2 separate regions of the Homo sapiens genome follow, and region 1 is linked to region 2. The links are contacts of gene promoters, found by promoter capture Hi-C in blood cells and fetal thymus (Javierre and others, 2016). All regions are on one chromosome and are shown on one strand. The core of a region is centred on a gene start or on the middle of the fragment in contact, and the rest is flanking DNA. Distances in the headings are between cores, read along the strand shown. Region 1 overlaps CLEC16A (C-type lectin domain containing 16A). Region 2 holds the start of RMI2 (RecQ mediated genome instability 2).

The links. The method cuts DNA at HindIII sites, captures the fragments that hold promoters and counts their contacts. A CHiCAGO score of 5 or more calls a contact.
Region 1: a contact is called between a fragment that was not itself captured here and the fragment with the promoter of RMI2 in region 2, in 6 of 17 cell types (activated CD4 T cells, naive CD8 T cells, fetal thymus and 3 more). The highest score is 17.2, in activated CD4 T cells.

The regions. Positions count from the first base shown.
Region 1 is chr16:11,047,198-11,052,874 of GRCh38, reverse strand. It overlaps CLEC16A (C-type lectin domain containing 16A), which reads right to left. Exons shown (of 24, transcript NM_015226.3): 17 at 5,533-5,583; 18 at 1,234-1,362. Among named protein-coding and RNA genes, the nearest start is that of CLEC16A, 110 kb to the right of the region's middle. RefSeq lists enhancers at 227-376, 1,389-1,966, 1,967-2,543. The HindIII fragment of the contact is 733 bases long and covers 1,631-2,363 here.
Region 2 is chr16:11,342,016-11,347,628 of GRCh38, reverse strand. RMI2 (RecQ mediated genome instability 2) reads right to left here and starts at 2,170. Exons shown (of 2, transcript NM_152308.3): 1 at 1,863-2,170. The coding sequence starts at 2,157. All of the region lies in intron 1 of LOC105371082 (a long non-coding RNA gene), which reads right to left. LOC105371083 (a long non-coding RNA gene) reads left to right here and starts at 2,417. Exons shown (of 2, transcript NR_135174.1): 1 at 2,417-2,516; 2 at 5,206-5,613. RefSeq lists silencers at 1,842-1,921, 1,942-2,101. The HindIII fragment of the contact is 15,776 bases long and covers 1-5,613 here.

The sequences.
Region 1 (5,677 bases), core at 748-3,247, 290 kb after region 2:
TGGAATCCAGAGCAGCAGTGCTCAGCGTTCAGTCCTCTGGACCTTCTGGCTCAGGGGTGCGGGGGGATCTCCCAGGTGGGGCCTTCTTGGCACAGGATGCTGTAGCCCTGGCTGGGGGTGAGCACGTCAGCATCATGAAGCAACACATACACATCTGTCAGAACCAGTCCTCCAGTGAAAGCTGATGCCAGGACGTCCAGTGCAAACACTGCCACCCACAAACAGAATCGTGTGCCTGGCAGGGAGGACATGGAAGGAAGGCGTCAGTGGGCCGGACAGGGTGGGTCCTGCGGTGAGGCTTGTGGGTTTGGTCAGACAGTTGGAAATGTGGATTGACTCAAGACACATGGGTCCCACTTCCTCTGCACCCCCAGGCTTCCGAGGTAGAACCACCAGCTGCAGGGAGGAAGGTTCAGACTCCTCGTGTCTGAGGTGCAAATGACAGGTCATTCCTGTTTTGCAAAATCCAAAAGTGAAACACCTCTGTCACACACGAATTAACTCAGATGATAAAGGCTGACAAGGGGAGCTGTGTGCAATGAATTCCTCTGAACTATACACAAATACTCATGTCTCCAGTGAATGATTTTCTAGGAAAAGGTGATGGTGCTTTCTAAGAAAGAAACTCTGATCTTACCCGGGAGATAAAATACCATGAACACCCCTGAGGACACTGCTTCCTAGAGTACCTGCTTCGGAAAAAAAGGGCTGATAACGGAAGCACACACTGCAGCTGGTTCTGAGAACTAATCTTTTCACACATATCTGTCCTGCAGGCTGGTGAGATTCACATTTAATTTGACTGTGTCCCAAGAGCAGGTAGATGCCTTAACATCGCACTATCTCTGGGGGTCCTGAGACCGCTGGGCTACGATTTCACACCAACCTCACCTGCACTGGATGTACCGTGCTCACCCCCGATGGTTCACAGAAAACTGGCCCCATTGCCTTACACTCCTGAGCTCAGGGCTTGTCTGTCTGCACTGGTGAAGGCTACCTCTCTGCAGCCAACACTGGGTGCCAGATGCAACGGAATGCCAAACCCTACTTCCCAAAGGGTAAAAACATGCCTTGGAAAGTCATGCCTGGGGGCAAATGGGTACTCTCTATCCACTGTCTAAGCTGTGTTGAGGGCAGGCTCTTGACTTTGACAAAGAAGCCCTTTCCTCCCTGGTCTGGGAGTGGTTCTGGAGAACAGTGGCCCAGGAGATGACAGGTCCTGTGCTCACTCACCCGCCGGGTCTTCTCCACATCGCCACACGGCAGCCGCTTCACGAAGTCAATGCCCGTCAGTGGCGTGCCTGTTGGGGGCAGCAGGATGGAGGCGTCCATCATGAGATATTCCACGTTCATGGGCTTCATCTAGAAGAGACATTACAGGAAACCTCAAAGCAGATTCCTTACTTGGAAGGAGGAAGGGGCCGGGGGAGGTTGCACAGGCCCCTCGCCTTCAACCGCATTTAGTAAATGTAAATGAGTGATCTAAATCCTGGATTTAGATTGAAGTAAAGCACAGAGGCAGCCAGATAAGGGAGCAATATGCCTTTTGGTTTTCTAAATTGCAGATTTTTCCTTTAATTGAAGCAGCAGCTCAGACTCTTGAGAAGTTGCATCCTTGCTGTGAAAAGCTTGCTCCTCTTCGCATTCTCTCTCCACCTCAGCAGGGACAGGGATTCTCAGCAGGAGGCCAGGTATGCTTTATCCCTGTGGGTGCAAGCCCGTCTGCCACCTGCTTCCTCCTCTCTGTCCTTCCAGTGATGATAACAGCTATGGCGATGGCAGCTTCCGTTTAACGAGAGCTGATTCCGCTGCAAGCTGTGACCTAAGGGCTTTTGAGGAGCTGCTTCCCACTTTGCTGATGAGGGAACACAGTCTCAGAGAAGCAGAAAAATGGATCCAAGGTCGCTCAGCTGGTGGGTGGCAGAGCCAAGACATGAGCCCAGGCCTGTCTTGCTCCAGGGCCTCTGTGATTCCCACCCTAGGACCAATGTTTCCCCTTCCTTCCTTGTCCCCTTCACATCTTACCTGGGATAATATAACACAATCATTATTGGAGCATCTACTAAGTGCCAGGCACGTGCTGGGATCACCTCCTGCTGGACGGCAGGTGCTGGTGGGCCCATCATAAAAGGGACACTGAGCTCAGAGGAGGAAAGGCGCATGCCCACGGCCACTGGGCCAGAGCTGACGGCCTCTTTCCACACCACCTCTGCGAAGCCTTCTTTGAGGACTAAGACACAGGGTGACATCCCCTCCCTGCCACCTCTCCCAGATCTCTGCTGCATCAGTAGTAGTAATCAATGCACACGTGTTGTTGAACACTAACATTTCATTTCCCTGGCTTCACAGACGAAGGGTAAGCTTTCTGCAGAATTCATTTTACTCTTTCAAACATCACAAGCTTTCCTTGTGTCTTCTCTTTTCAGAAAGTGGGCTTCAAACATACCACTTTCCCCCTCCTGCTAGGTAAAGCTGACTACATAGGGCAGGGATGTAGCGAGGGCTCAGTGGCCCAGATACCTGGTGCTATGGTTTGAACGTGTCCCCCATAGTTCATGTGTTGGAAACTTAATCCCCAGTGTGACAGTGCTGAGAGGTAGGGCCTAACAAGACGGGATTGGGTCTCATGAATGGAGTAATGTTGTTATTGCAGGTGTGGCTCAATGATGGTGAGAGTGACTTTGTTATAAGAGTGAGTTCTGTTCCCTCTTGCTCTGTCTTGCCCTTTCGCATTCTACCATGGGATGATGTGGCAAGAAGGCCGTCGCCAAATGCTGGCACCTGATATTGGACTTCCCAGCCTCTAGAACTGTAAGAAATTTCTTTTTTTTATAAATTAAGTCTGTGGTATTCTGTTATAGCTGCAGAAAACATACTGAGACACCCGGTGAATGGGCCAGAGGGCCAAGGAGCCACTTGGTGCATGCTGCTTGCCTTCTTCTTTTGGACACTTTAAGTACTTTCCTCCAGAAGCCTGAGGTCCCCCACTCCAAATCCTCTAACCCCGCAGGGGTGGCAGTTCCTGCCTCACTCATTCACTTGCAGCTCCCTTCCCCTCTACTCCTGCTGCCCCCTACAACCTTCCCAGTGAACCCCTCAGGCCTGCTGGGGGCAGAGCTAGGCCATCACCTCACTGAACCTTTTGCATTAAACCAGAGGCAATAAGGGAAATGAAGGAAAGGTCACAAGTCATGGTCTGACTTTGGTACAGCAGCTGGCCTTGGAGGGCCTGTCCCCACCCCCTTCCACTCAGAAGCTGCATTCCTGAAGGCTGAGGACTGATTTTCAGATACAGAGCAAGGGCGTGGCACCTTTGTATTTCTCTGGAATGCCAGGCATTGTATAGGACACACAATACATGTTTGATTAAAACAAACAAACAAACAAACAAACAAAAAAACCTGGGAAGCTCCCCATGGTGGGAGGGGGAGGAAGTATTTGTTGTGTATAGACCCATGAGTATTTGTTGTTGTGTATGGACCCATGAGGCCTCTTGTTGGCTATTTCATATACAGCCTGGGTGGCTATGAGGTAGGGATCCCCCACCTTACGGATTTAAAAAAAAAAATTGCCAGGTGCGGTGGCTCACGCCTGTAATTCCACCACTTTGGGAGGCCAAGGCGGGCGGATCACGAGGTCAGGGGTTTGAGACCAGCCTGGCCAGCATGGTGAAACCCCGTCTCTACTAAAAATACAAAAATTAGCTGGGCGTAGTAGTGGGCGCCTGTAATCCCAGCTACTCGGGAGGCTGAGGCAGGAGAATTGCTTGAACCCAAGAGGCAGAGGTTGCAGTGAGCCGAGAACGCACTACTTGCACTCCAGCCTGGGCGACAGAGCAAAACTCTGTTCGAAAAAAAAAAAGAAAAAAATCAAGGCTCAGAATTTCAGCAATGCACTCAAGGTTGCATTGTCAAAAGCAGACACTGAGCAGGGGTTTAAGAGCTCAAGCTTTCCCACATGGTCAAGTGCCATAGAAGCCTGACATTTCCAAACAGGAAACCAAACTGTAGGAAATGACATTGCAGGGGGATGTCTCGGGGGTAAGAGGAAATAACAAATGACAACTGAATCCCTTCCACTCTAATGAATGGTCTGAAGGGTGGAAGACTGAGCCTCTCTCGAAGGGGCTGGAGGAATGATGAGGGGCTGTAGATGAGCAGCCCACGGGGGCCTGGCACAGGGTGCTGCTGGGGTGTTTCTGGAGATGACTTATGCCAATTTACACCTTTCCCCTGAAAAGGCTCCACGGCAGCCTCAGACATGCAGTGACAAAGGACGTGGTGAGGGCCCAGCTGTCCCGATTCCTAGGGAATGGGCTGCGAAGCCAAGGAGCCAATTAGTGCACGCTGCCTTTTTCTTTTTGACACTTAAAACACTTAGGTTTATTATAAACTTCCCAAATCACACATGCTTTGGTGGGTAATATCCACAAGAAGGATCACTTATCACGTACTTATGGAGTACCTAGCCAAGGGCAGGTGCTGGGATAACAGAGACAAACGCGCAAAGCAGAGAAAGCTGGGATCTTCTGAACCTATGGCTTCCCGCGATTCTGCCTGCGGGAGGAGGAAGGAAGCCCATGTGCTGGCACTACAGACTGGAGGGAGAGCTGCATGCTGAAACATTCCAGTGGAGCAGCAAACAGGGAGGCAGGGACATAATACATGGAGAAGCACGGGGGATGCGGGGCTGGGCTGTCCTCCTCTAGAAGCGTGGCTCTGCCACTCACCGGCCGGGCAGACTTGGGTACATCACTAGACCTCTCTGACTCAGTTTCCTCATTAGCAAGTGATATGGTTTGGCTCTGTGTCCTCACCCAAATCGCACCTTGAATGGTGAGACACATGAGAATCCCCACGTGTCAAGGGCAGAACCATGTGCCGGTAACTGAATCATGGGAGCAGTTTCCCTTATACTGTTCTCATGATAGTGAGTAAGTTCTCATGAAATCTGATGGTTTTCTAAGCATCTGGCATCTTTTCTCCTTGCACTAATTCTCTCTCCTGTCACCCTGTGAAGAGGTGCCTTCCACCATGATCGTAAGTTTCCTGAGGCCTCTCCGGCAATGTGGAACTGTGAGTCAATTAAACCTCTTTTCTTTATAAATTACCCAGTCTTGGGTATTTCTGCGTAGCAGTATGAGAAGAGACTAATTCAGCAAGAAAGGGACAATGGCAGTAGCTATTACCGTTGGTTGGTGTGAGGATGAAGAGATATAATCTGTACAGCATGCTATATACATCCAGCACAGAGTAAGTCCTCAATAAAATGATACTGTCCCCAAAATTACTATTCATAGCAGAGAATCATCCTGATTCATCGGACACCTCCCATGTTAGAGGGAGAGAATATAGTCTGAAATTTTAACAGTGGTGGGGATCACAAGACACCATTCTAAATCTGCTTCCCCATCAATCTGTGCTATTTGGTCACAAAGCCCTAAGTCAAAAAACTCCCTCTGGGATGGGCAGGGGGAGCTTGGCAGGGACACAGGCGCACACCAGCCCAAGTGTGTCCCAGCCCCTCACTTACTGTCATGCTCCTATACTCATCTTCAAACATGTCCAAAAAAATGTCTTCTCCCTAAAAAGAAAGGAAGGGAGGGAAGAGGAGATTATTCATATTTTTTTCCATAAACAACAGAGTATTATAAACTCTAGTTTGTGGCTTTAGAGGC
Region 2 (5,613 bases), core at 921-3,420:
GCATGTGGCAGTAAACGAGTCCTGATATTTTGCATCCTCACTGTGAGCCAGGTGCAGTACTAAGGCAGTTGTTTACTTATTGAATCCACACAACACGCAGGAATGATTAGCTCCTTTTTACAAAATAGTACAAGTCCAGAAAAGTTAACAAGAGTGCTCCAGGCAGCTCAGTTGGGAAGGGGTGGAACCAGAAATTCGACCTAAGCCTTTCCGAGTCCACAGCAGCTCAGGCCAGACCACAGCCCTATCTGCCTCTAGTTAGACTCCAAGACTGAGCAGGAAGGGCCCTTAGGAATGAAGTGATCTTGGCCTGATTTCCCAGGAGAGGGAGCTGAGGTGAGGGAAGGCCCATGGAGCCTCAGAGCTCCTCAGCTTAGACCTCACATCCTCTAGAAGCCTCCCCGGGCCACTCAGCACCTTGCACATCCTCATGGCTCCCCAAAGATCAGCGATCCTCTGCGACACTTGCTCACTGCCTGTCTCCCAGCAGACTCTATCTAGGTCTCGGCTGCAGCCCAACACTGCACATGAGGGGCTGATGTACAACACGTGCTCAACTGACATCCCAGGGAACAAGTGAGATGGATGCCCATTGCCTATCACTCAAGACTATTGGTTCTTGGAGCACTTATGTGTCAGGAACTGGGCCAGATGCTGAGGATACAGTTGTCAGGACCACACAGCTCTGGCCCTCCAGTAGCTTGGGCTGGCCCAGTGGTTCTCAAAGTATGGCCCCCAAACCAGGCGTGGTGGTACAGGCCTGTAGTCCCAGCTACCCAAGGAGGCTGACGCAGGAGGATTGCTTGAGCTCAGGGCCAGCCTGGGCAACACGGTGAGTCCCCTATCTCAAATAAATAAAACATTTAAAAAGTCGAAAGTATGGTCCCCAGACCAGCAGCATCAGCATCACCTGGGAGCTGGTTAGAAATGCAAATTTCCAGCCCCACCTGGACCTCCTGACTCACAAACCCTGAGGGTGGAGCCCCAGCCATCCCAGCTTTACCAAGCCCTCCAGGAGAGACTGATGCTGGCTCAAGTTTGAGCATCAGTGGTTTAAGAGAGGAAGCAGGCAGGGCGCAGCGGCTCATGTCTGTAATCCCAGCACTTTGGGAGGCCGAGATGAGCAGATCACTTGAGGCCAGGAGTTCGAGACCAGCCTGGCCAACATGGCAAAACCCAGTCTCTGCTAAAAAATACAAAAATTAGCCGGGTGTGGTGGCACATGCCTGTAATCCCAGCTACTCGGGAGGCTGAAGCATGAGAATCGCTTGAATTCGGGAGGTGGAGGCTGCAGTAAGCTGAGGTCGCGCCACTGCACCCCATCCTGGGCGACAGAGTGAGACTCCGTCTCAAAAAAAAAAAAAAAAAAAAAAGAGAGGAGGCAAACATGAGTGAGCTACAGCCCAAGACAGTTCAATTAAGGAGAAGTACAGGAGGGTCTCCCGTTCCTAGGGGCTAGGGAGGACTTCCCTGAGAAAGGCACATTTGAGCTGAGACGTTAAGGATGAGCAGAAGTTTCCCAGGACAGTATTTCCCAAAACAAGGATATCAACTGGGAGAGGGGGCTTGTGACAAACGAAGGTGCCGGAGTCCCTCCCCAGAAGATTCCCACTAGGGGTGGGAGAGTCCCAGGAATCTGTATTTGTAAAAGGGACGGCAGGTGATGCTTATCATCAGATCAACTTCACCAAGGAGGGACCGGAGCAAGGGTACCCAAGCGGGGACCCGCAGGGGCAGAGGCCCGGAGGAGGGCCAGACCCGCCCCGCCCCCGTTCGAGTGTCAACAACAAGATCGAATCTGGCCTCGGCAACTTCTCGGCGGGCAGCAGGGAAGAGGGCGCCCGGTAAGGCCCGGGCATTACCTGGGACTAGACAGGGCCGCCCGCGCGGCACCCGCTCCAGGCCGCGGACCGAGAAGTCCCCGCTCGGGTCCCTCAGCCGAGCCTCGCCGCGGTCCGCCATCACTACCCTGCCCTGCATCCACACGGCCGCCAGGTCCAGCGGCCCGCGGCCCGCCGCCGCCCGTGACAGCCGCCACGCGCCCGGGCCGCCCTCCGCGTCGCGCCGCAGCTGCTCCGCCAGCACCTTGAGTGGCGGCGACCTCGGAAGCCGCACCCCCGCGGGGCCGCCTGAGAACGAGTCCGCAGCCGCCGCCATTCCGCCTCGCCGCACCCTTCCGCCCCGCCTCCGCTTTCCCGCCAACTTTGAGAAGCAGCGGGGCCCGGCCCTCAGCCACCAATCAGGAGCGCGCTGGCAGAGCCGGCCAATGGTCGACGTCAGAAGGCGGGACCGCCGGGCGAAGAGGCCCTCTCTAGCAGCCAGGAGTGCGCATGCGTAGATAAAAGTAAATAAACGCCCTCAAGTTAGGAATGAACGGAGGAAATGGGTTAAACGAGAATAAATAATTGAAGGCAGAGAGGTAAAGAACTTCCTCTTTCAACGCATCTCAAAATTTGGCGTGGATGCAGATCACCTACAGAGTATGATTATTCATCTTTACATTGCCTTGTTTTGAGGTTAGTAAATACTGAAACGAATTAAGAGTCCGTGTTTATTGGGAGTGAGCAAGAATCCAGTCAGGAGATAAGGCTGGGGAGGGAGACGGGGAGAGCTGGCAAACTTGCCTTTTCTTTTATTATTATTTTCAGTTATATTTTAATAGCATCAAATAATTTTAAGGTTAATAAAATATATTGCTATTTTTCAGACAAGAAATGCACATTTATTGTAAAAAAAATAGGGGAAAAATGTAGAACAAGAAAATAATTGTAAAAGCCGCTTATAGATACCCACTGTTAATTTTGGGGTATATTAGCCTTTAGGCTTTAAAATATGTGTGTGTATTTTTTTTGAGACAGGGTCTCACTCTGTTGCCCAGGATGGAGTGCAGTGGCACAGTGACGGCTCACTACAACGTTCACCTCCCGGGCATAGGTGATTCTCCTACCTCAGCCTCCCAAGTATCTCGGACTACAGGCGTGCACCACCACGTCCAGCTAATTTTTGTATTTTTTGTAGAGACAGGGTCTTACCATGTTGCCCAAGGTGGTCTGGAACTCCTGGGATCACGCAATCCTGCCTCCTTGGCCTCCCAAAGTGCTGGGATTACAGGCGTGAGCCACCATGCCTGGCCTATTACTGATATACAAATAGTGTTTTGTATATTGTTTTCACTTAATAATGAACATCTTTCTGTATCAGCAAATATCCATCTGCTTCCTCTTGAATGACTGCATAATACTCGATTTGTCTTATCACATATTAAACCAATATCCTACAGTTGGACATTAAGGCTATTTCCAATTTTTCACTTTATAAATATATCCACTGTGGACCTACTTAAAAGATAAATCTTTTTTATTTATTTATTTATTTATTTTTTTGAGACGGAGTCTCACTCTGTCACCCAGGCTGGAGTGCAGTGGCGCCATCTGGGCTCACTACAAGCTCCGCCTCCCAGGTTCCCGCCATTCTCCTGCCTCAGCCTCCCGAGTAGCTGAGACTACAGGTGCCTGCCACCACGCCCAGCTAATTTTTTGTACTTTGTTTTAGTAGAGACGAGGTTTCACCGTGTTAGCCAGGATGGTCTCGATCTCCTGACCTCGTGATCCACCCGTAAAAGCTAAATCTTTTTGTGCATCCTTCAAATAAAATTCCCAGGAATCTCTCCCTAAAAATTGGATGTCCCCAGTCAGCAAAGTCCACAGATCCTAAATCAGGCAATCCTTAAAGTCAAGGTCAGTTCTTAAGAGAAACTTTGAGTTCCCAGGGCCTCCTGCAGTACCAGGCATTCAGAGAGTATTCAGCAAGAGCTTGATTTTTTTTTTTTTTTTTTTTTGAGACGGAGTCTCGCTGTGTCACCCAGGCAGGAGTGCAGTTGTGCCATCTCAGCTCACTGCAACCTCCGCCTCCCAGGTTCAAGTGATTCTCCTGCCTCAGCCTCCTGAGTAGCTGGGACTACAGGTACACGCCACCCGCCTGGCTAATTTTTGTATTTTTTAGTAGAGACGGGGTTTCGTCATACTGGCCAGGCTAGTCTCAAACTCCTGACCTCGTGATCTGCCCGCTCAGCCTCCCAAAGTGCTGGGATTACAGGCGTCAGCCACCGCACCCGGCCAAGAGCTTCATTTTTATAAAATTGAGCCAGGTCCTATTGTAAGAACTTTGTAGGAAGTATCCCATGTACCCCCACAGACCCTGAAAAGACTGTTCCACACAGGTGAGGAAACTGAGGCTTAAGGAAGCTAGAGGGCTGGCCCATAGACTCTCAGTAGCCTCTATGAGGTTTTGGCCTCTACACCTAATATGGTTTGGCTGTGTCCCCACCCAAATCTCATGTTGAATTGTACTTCCCATAATCCCCACATATCGTGGGAAGGACCCCGTGGTAGGTAATTGAATCATGGGGGCGGATACTCCCATGCTGTTCTCGTGATAGTGAGTGAGTTCTCACAAGATCTGATGGTTTTATAAGGTGCTTTTCCCCCTTTGCTCGGCACTACTTCTTCCTGCTGCCACATAAAGAAGGACGTTTGCTTCCCTTTCTGCCATGATTGTAAGTTTCCTGAGGCCTCCCAGCCCTGCGGAACTGGAGTTAATTAAACCTCTTTCCTTTATAAATTACCCAGTCTTGGACAGTTCTTTATAGCAGTGTGAGAACAGACTAATACAACACCTCAACCCTGACCTATGAAGTAACCAGGCTCCTAGGCTGAGAAAGGAGCAGGAACATTAACCAAGAGAGAATCCAACCCGTTCATGCCTGGTGGGTCCTCACTGACCTTCCCCCGAGGTACCTTAAGGACAGAGAAGTGACGGAGAAGGGAGTTAGCGTGAAGGGAGAAGCCCCCAGGCTTCTTGTATGAGCCTGGGAATCCCCCATCATTCCCTTGGCCTCCAGATTCCCTGCACCTGCTCCCACAAGCCCAACACCATGTTGCTGGCAGAGTGATCTTTTCAAAACACAAGTCTTAGCATGTCAGCACCGGGTTTATAACACCTTGATGGTGTAATCCACACATCTGGCATGTGAGCATTCCAGGCAGAGGGAACTGCACATGGAGGGGCCAGACAGGGGAGACAAAGCAAGAAGCATGTAGCAAACTGCCAGTAGTTAAGGATGGCTGGGACACAGAGTAGAAATGGAGGACTGGGGATAGATGAGTCTGGCTCTACATAACCTCATGTCTTATCCCCATTTTACAGATGATGAAACTGAGGTTCAAGCCAATGACAAGCCTGAAGCCACATGGCTAGTGAGTGGCAGAGTCAGAACTCAAACCCAAATCCACCTGACCCCAAACTTCATGTATCTTGAACTACAGGCTCCATCTCACTGTTCACACTCTCACCCACCTCCACCCATCAAAGGTGCCTCTAGACCTTTGCTTGTGTTGTTTGTTCTCTGCCTGACATGCCTCCCCCTCAGTCGCTCTCAGTTGAAACCTGGCTTAGTCATCAAGTGCCTGCTCAGCAGCAAGACCTCTTCTCTTCACAGAGCCTTTGTTGAGCCCCACCACTGGAATTAACCTCTTCCTTCCAGACCAGTTTGGTGGTGCCCCTAATCCACAGTTTCCCAACCTCAGCCCTACTGACACTGGGGCTGGATAATCT